Regions from separate parts of the Homo sapiens genome. Here region 2 is linked to region 1. Evidence: promoter capture Hi-C in 16 types of primary human blood cells and fetal thymus (Javierre and others, 2016). All regions are on one chromosome and are shown on one strand. The core of a region is centred on a gene start or on the middle of the fragment in contact, and the rest is flanking DNA. Distances in the headings are between cores, read along the strand shown. Region 1 holds the start of FEM1C (fem-1 homolog C). Region 2 has its middle 72 kb from the start of LMNB1.

Region 1 (3,774 bases), core at 865-3,364:
TGTGGCCCAGGCTGCAGCACAGTGGTGTGATCATGGCTCACTATAGCCTTGATCTCCCCAGCTCAGCTCAGGTGATCCTGCCACCTCAGCCTCCTGCATGCCATGCCTGACTAATTTTTTGTGTGTGTGTGCGTGTGCGTGCATGTGTGTGTGCGTGTGTGTGGAGTTGGGATTTCACCATGTTGTCCAGGCTGGTCTCGACCTCTTGGGTTCAAGCAATCTGCCTGTCTCAGCCTCCGAAAGTTCTGGGATTACAGGTGTGAGCCACAGCAGAAATTGGTAGCCTTTAAACTAAGTGTCCGTCTATCCCTTAACAATCCCATGAGGGATACAGAGCTCAGTTTGAAGATGGCTGATGTGAATGTTTACATCTTATTGAATTAGGTGAGAGAGACAGGTCAGCTCAGGTTAGGCCTTGGTTGGGACACTGTACACTGTTATCTGTACCCTGGGAGAGTATAGAACTGTGACATATGCTGGGGATAAAACAGCCAGTCCTCTTGGCTGGTTAATTTTTATGGATGGTCAATCTTATCCTTTATACTCTATTCTTTTATATTTTCTTCTCAGTGGCAATTACCTTAACTTCAGTTTTGGGAATCTGATGTTGAGTGTAGTCTGATACTGACTACCTAAGGGAAATACTATGCTATACTTAAAAATTATTAAGACTGTAAAAACATAAGAAACGTTTAGAGTATAGAAAGGAAAAGCAAAATATATAGTTGTATGAAAATTATTTCAATTATGCAAAACTACATAAACTTCTGAACAACACTACAATATACAAAAATGAAGTTGTGATTTTTTATAAATGTTTTTAGTGCTGCATGACTTCTAACATAACGTTATGGATTACATATGCTGAGGGTCAGACTGCCTACTGTAATATTCTATTTCTCCTAGTGGTACTAAGGAATTATGTGAGCTTAAGTTCCCTCAAACAAAGTGATTGAAGGTCCATTTTCAAAAATTCTGTTTTCTCATCAGGATTCATTATGGGCGTTATTTCCCAAACACATTTAAACTTTTTCATCCTAGTTTAATGCAACGTAGGTTTTAGCATCAAATTCCAGAGGTTTATCAACTACTATATGAAGAAGTAATTCTTTTCATTCATATATATAACCTTTTAAGCTTTAGTTCCCGATTTATTACTCAGAGCTCAAGAACCTGACCTCATTGACTTTACATTGCTCTTAGGGTTTACCATTCCTCGTAGCCTTTATGCTTTTTAGAGGCTACTTTAGAAAGAGAGTCAGTTTGACAGCCTCCAAAACTAATCACATTTTCTGAAATTTCAGTTTCCTCCGTGTGTGTTCTGAGGTGTAATTACGAGCTTGGTAATTTCCAGGGCCCACCAAAGTAAGGACGGAAGACTAGTCCGAGAGACTTCACGTGTGTGAGGGTAATACTGGTCCGCACCCAAATTTGAATTTTAGCTCCCATGATTCCCACATATTGTGGGAGGGACCTAGTGGGAGATAATTGAATCAAGAAGGCTGTTTCCCCCATGCTGCTCTGGTGGTAGTGAGTACGTCTCAGGAGAGCTGATTGTTTTATATGGGGTTTCCCTTTTTCCTTGGCTCTGATTTTCCTCTCTTGCCTGCTGCCATGTAAGACGTGCCTTTCCCCTTCTGGCTTGATTGTGAGGCCTCCCCAGCCACGTGGAACTCTGAGTGCATTAAATCTTTTTATCTTTATAAATTACCCAATCTCGGGTATGTCTTTATCAGCAGCGTGAAAACGCACTAATACACTTCCCTTCTGGGGTCTCTGAGATGGGACCGAAAGATTCCCTAAGGGAGCACCCCGAAAATCCGAGAGGAGAAGAGCCAGCGAGATCTCAGAACTCGAGCTGCCTCGGGCCGCTTCGATGGGCACAGATCCGCCCCCTCGCAGCGCCCCGCCCCCCAGCGCGTTGCACGCAGGCACGTCCTCCCAGTAGTTCAGGCCCCGCCCCCTCCCCGTCGCCCCACCCCGGCCGCGACGCCCCGCCCCGCGCCTAGGCTGTTGCTGGCCGCGGCCGCCGCCCTCCCCCGGCCCAATGGCGTGGCGGCACAGTCAGTGATGTGACGCTCAGGCTTGTCCGGCCCCCGGCTCGCAGCCCATTACACCATCCGTCGCAGCAGTCGCTGCAGCCGCTGCAGTCCGAGCCGACTAAGGGCGGGAGGCAGCTCGGGTGGCGGGGCGTGGCGAACAGCGCGGCCGGATTCATTCCTTTGGGGCGCGGAGCATGGAGGAGCTGTGCGGCCGCAGGCGGAGCAGGGCGGCCCGGGCGGCGGTGGGGACAACGGTTTCCCTTTGAAGGGGACGGACAAAGCCCGAGTGACCAGCGGCGGCGGGGAGGACTAGTCCCCGGGCAGGTAGTGGCGGCGGCAGCGGCCTGCCAGGGCTCGGGCCGGGGCCTGAGGTGCCCGCGGAAGGCCTGGGCGGGAAGGAGGGCGCCGGGGGAGCCGAAGGCGGGCAGCGGGCTGGAGGCCACAGCTTGGCCCATCGGGAGGGGGTTGTGGTCGATGGAGGAGATTGGGAGGGGGCTGCCGTTGTCTGGAACAGGGAGAGGGGAAGGTTGTGTTGGGGCGACTGTGGTTTGAGGAACCTGCGGATCATCCCTTGGCGGGGGGTGGGGGGTGATCGAAATGGGGCGGGCGAAGTTAATGACTAAAAGGCAGGCGGATTTCCTGAGAGCCGTGAGTAGTTTTAAAGGAAAGAGAATCTTTCGGGGCACAGTTTTGGCCTTAGCCGGGGTTTGGTGTGTCCGACCTTTTTGTTCTTTCTCGAAACCCGGCCTCAGGCCTTCCAGCCTGGCGCCCTTGGCCAGCTCTCCTGCAGTTGCAAGAAAGAGAAACATTTCTGAACCCGAGTCTCCTGCCTCTTTCGGTTGTACTCTCCCTGGGCGTGTGCAAAGCAAAACTAGAACAAAGCTTGGCTGGTTAGAGCTGGAGGCGAGAAAACGGGCTGCCTGTAGTGTTTAAATTTTCCGCACATGGAGGAGACTGCCTGCGACCAGAACATTTGGGTCTCTGTGTATCCTTCTGTATTTTTCTTTACCACCTTTTCTTTGGGGGTGGGGGGGGTGTGTGGGATGGAGTAGTGCCTGAAGTATAGCTTTTATTCCTTTCTTCCCACAGAAGTGGAAATTAAGAAGTGTTTTGCCTTCTTCTATAGAAAATTAAATGCTGCTACTTTTTTTTTCTTTCTCTAGTTTGGTGCCCTGGTTGTCAGATGTTGGAAAGCAGTAGGACGGAACATACTCTTCGTGGTTGTGTATCCGTTCTGGGGTGCAGCAATTAACATTGGACTTTGGTTCCTGTGACTCTTGCCTGTGTCGATAGAGTTAAACTGGAGCTCTGCTTTGAAAGATAAATAAAGCACAGCCTCTCAACTGGACATAAATGGATCTAAAGACAGCAGTATTTAACGCAGCTCGGGATGGCAAACTCCGGCTTCTCACCAAATTGTTGGCAAGCAAATCCAAAGAGGAGGTTTCCTCCTTGATCTCTGAAAAAACAAATGGGGCCACGCCACTCTTGATGGCCGCCAGGTATGGGCACCTTGACATGGTGGAATTCCTCCTAGAGCAATGCAGTGCCTCCATAGAAGTTGGGGGCTCCGTCAATTTTGATGGCGAAACCATTGAGGGGGCTCCCCCTTTATGGGCCGCTTCTGCAGCAGGACATCTGAAGGTGGTCCAGTCCTTGTTAAATCATGGAGCATCTGTCAACAACACGACTTTAACCAATTCAACTCCTCTTCGAGCTGCGTGTTTCGATG
Region 2 (3,743 bases), core at 54-2,553, about 11 Mb before region 1:
CAGGATCACCAGCTGTATCCCTTAGCTAATGCTCTGAGAGATCATGGCCAGTTTTTAATAAGCTCAAATCGTCTTAACGAGAAGTCAAAGAATTTGAACCTCCCCCTTAACGTCCCCAACCTTGGAGCTGTTGTCATGACTGCGGAGGCGAGAACTTCACCTTTGAAACTCAGCCTCCTACCAGACAATTCTTTCCTAATGACCATTTCCCATAAAAGACCAGTGCTCCTGAAGCGTGCCGTGTGGTGCCTGCCTTTTATAACAGCAGTTGACCACAGTTGTTGTTCTACACATCGGTGTGAATATTTGATTGATGCCCCCCACCCCCACCCCAACCAGGGTCAGGCAGAAATTTCTTTTCGCTCACCATTGTATTGCCAGTGCACAGCATGCAACTTAGTAAGTGATTAATCAATGTTTGTTGTGGGCCAGGCACAGTGGCTCATGCCTGTAGTCCCAGCACTTTGGGAGGCCAAGGTGGGCAGATCACTTGAAGTCAGGAGTTAGAGACCAGCCTGGCCAATATGGTGAAACCCCATCTCTACTAGAAATACAAAAATTAGCTGGGAATGGTGGCGCACACCTGTAATCCCAGCTACTTGGGAGGCTGAGACAGGAGAATTGCTTGAACTTGGAAGGCAGAGGCTGTATTGCACTCTAGCCTGGGCAACAGTGAGACTCCGTCTCTCAAAAAAAAAAAAAAAGTTTGTTTAATTAATATTAATATTTATTAATAAAATGAGTAAAATGTGGTGTTTCCAGTGTTCTCAATGGCCTTCCTTGTTTAACCACTCAGTTGACTTAACCCAGGAGAAATGTTAATTCTGACTGGCACTATTTTTGCTAATAGACTTACTTAAGCCAACAATAATTAACAGCCCTGCCATTTTATAACAGGACAGCCTCACCTTACTTCCCATCTTAATTCCCGTGATCAAAAAATTTTAAGTTAATTAGTTTTAAATTCCTATTTCTTTACAACCTACTATATTGGTATGACCATCTTACATGGCCTCATTTATTCCACTATCAACTCTTTGTAACAGGATCTTTAGTTCCAATTTACAGATAAGGAAACTGAGATGCAGGAATGTTAGCTTTTTTAGACTTACATCACTAAGTGACAGCAACTTAGTGTCATTAACTACTTCTCTTATCAAGGGTTTTCCATTCACAGACCTAGTTCAAAGGCAAAAACAATGTGCTGTTTATTCTTTCTACGTGAAGTCTATCTATGGAGAAGACCCATCTATGTGGGAAAGTATAAATTTGGGACATAACCCATGACTATAATTGAATTCTCTATCATTAAAAAATCATTTATTTTATTTCCTTTCCAATCAAAGCTGAATCACCAGTTCCAATAATTCCTGTTATTCACAGCATCCCCACCCTACCCCCATCAGGATAACTTGGATGTACTTGCATACCCTCTGGGTCATTTTCAACACTTCCTAGATACAGTAACACATTGCATCACTGGGGTCCAAACTGCTTTCACCTACTTGCTGGGTGGTGTGTTAGCTTACCTAAAGGTGACTATCCCCCCAAAGGAGAGTTTTAAATCAGAACACTTAACTACCTCCCTGATGTCAGGGAAAGTGCATCCTGAAACAGCCAGTTTAGGAAAGGTCATTCTACCAGGGCTGTGGCTTTCTGCCTTATCTGAGAGCTTACGATGCGATAGTGGGAGGAAGGCAGATTGAGCAAGAGCTGGAGCTGTTCCTGCTCCTAAGTCCATCTTCATACGCTGAGAGGTGCAAATCAGCTAATATACAAGAAAGCATTTTCTAAACCTCACCATGAAAACAATGTTTATTACATTTGCCATTAATTTGAAGAACATTAGAAACAACAGAGATTTTAAATAGGGATTTGGGGATTATCCGACAGTTGGAATTGTTCCCATTCATTTCAACAATTAATAGCACCGTTTTCATTAGTAAACTGGCTATGTTATTTTTTTTTTTGACAGCTCCCTGGGATAGCAGAATAGGCATAGTCATCAAGGATAATAGAACTGTGATCACACTGAGTTCCTCAAGAAAAGAACTGGCTGTCTCATCTTGGTATTCTTGATGCCTTGCTCAGTAGCGCCTGGCAAAACTAAATCTCCCAGTGAATGGTTGGTGAAGGAATGAACAAGTGAATAAATGACAACCTGTGGGCCTGTTATCCCATCTACAAAACAAGGACAATACTAATAATGCAGTATTGTGAGCTGTAAGGTAATGTTTGATGTGACAACTCAAGCATGAGTGAACATTCAATAAATGTTTGCCCCCTTTCCTTTCACCCTGCTTCCTCTTGATGGGTCTTATGCTGCTTTTCTGCCTTCCTATGTGAGAGTGAAAGTGTCCCGTGTGTCAGAGACCAACACGTGCTGGTGTGTACTCCCCACATGTCAGAGCAGCACTGCGTTTCCAGACCCTGCCCCTGTCGGTTTCTCCCAGTGGGGTCCCCAGTGTTCCCCAGCTGTAAGGTCCGGTAAGGGCCCAGCTTCAGGTCCCCTCTGGGATTTCTGGTATAAGGTCTGCCTGAGTGACCCAAAGCATTCACCTCTAGCACCCACGCCCTTCTTTCTCCAGGGAAGGACCCCTCCCAGAAGGATTGTAATAATACGCATTACTTTTCCTGGTAATGAAATGCAACATGTCTCGGGATAGAACCCAGGCTCACTATTTCTTTTATGACATAATATGAATGTTTGCAGATCTTGATTTTTTTTTTCCGAGTTCAAATTTCATAACAATTTTCCTCTTAGCAAGACAAAAATTTTTTAAAGAGAAATGATCTGATTCAGTAGCTGGGAAAACAGTTCATAGGAAAATTCTGTGAAAACCCTATGATCCCAGAAAGAGCTTGGGTTGAGTCCCTTCCTGGCATCTGCTGGTTGGAAGAGGCAGCGTAACAAGGGAGTGAAAGCTGGCAGTGAAGAGGAAGGCTGGGTCATGACCCCAGTCCTAGGAAGAGAATGAACTAACTGCCAGGGTCACAGTCACACTGCTCGCTAAAGGGCAGTGTGAGAGGGAGGCTCCTTGGCCTAAATGTGGACAATGGAGAGAAAATCAGAAGAGAAAAACAAGTGATCTGGGACTGTTTGTGAAACTAGATAAAAAAACAGGTCATCTGAAGATCACTCTCAACCACTGCATTAGGAAGCCAGAGAAACACATTCAGCACAGTCAGACATTTGTGTCCCTCTGGTCACAGTGGACACTTTTAACTAGTACTTGTGGCTAAACTTAAGTCATGGGACTCAGGACTAGAAGGGGCTGTGGAAACATCCGCGTGTATTCAACAGACGAAACCAGACAATTTGAGAATCATTATCCAGACTGAGTCAGGAAACACTGAAGAAAACCTCGCACTACCAAAGGGACCTCCACCCTATCACAATTACACAGTGAGGTCTGCCCCCAAAGACAGATCCATGCAGAAAAGCAGCAGATGCTACAGTGGGAGGATTAGGGCCACCAGCTGTAAGCCAAGTGGGTCACAAGATAAGTCTTAAAAGGCAAGTAGGAATTTATTTTTCATCAAAAAAAAAACAACACTAGTATTTAAGAAAATGACATATAAATGCAGAGAAATCTTCCGGTTTCACAGACTGCAGCTCATTTGGAGTAATACACAGCCAAAGTAAGTATTTAAAAACCCAAAATGGAACAGAAGCGGCATTTCTCTAAAAGCAAACTTGGCTGGCATTTAAACTGAGAATTCCAATTCAGATTGGTGGAGGA

The links. Contacts are between HindIII fragments. The CHiCAGO score rates a contact against its expected background, and 5 or more counts as called.
Region 2: a contact is called between a fragment that was not itself captured here and the fragment with the promoter of FEM1C in region 1, in 1 of 17 cell types (non-activated CD4 T cells). The highest score is 8.0, in non-activated CD4 T cells.

What each region holds. Positions count from the first base shown.
Region 1 is chr5:115,543,115-115,546,888 of GRCh38, reverse strand. FEM1C (fem-1 homolog C) reads left to right here and starts at 2,114. Exons shown (of 3, transcript NM_020177.3): 1 at 2,114-2,366; 2 at 3,206-3,774. The coding sequence starts at 3,396. RefSeq lists silencers at 1,824-2,163, 2,264-2,313, 2,364-2,533 and enhancers at 1,963-2,257, 1,799-2,565. The HindIII fragment of the contact is 1,787 bases long and covers 1,140-2,926 here.
Region 2 is chr5:126,847,207-126,850,949 of GRCh38, reverse strand. No RefSeq gene overlaps it. Among named protein-coding and RNA genes, the nearest start is that of LMNB1, 72 kb to the right of the region's middle. RefSeq lists an enhancer at 2,787-3,613. The HindIII fragment of the contact is 7,004 bases long and covers 1-3,743 here.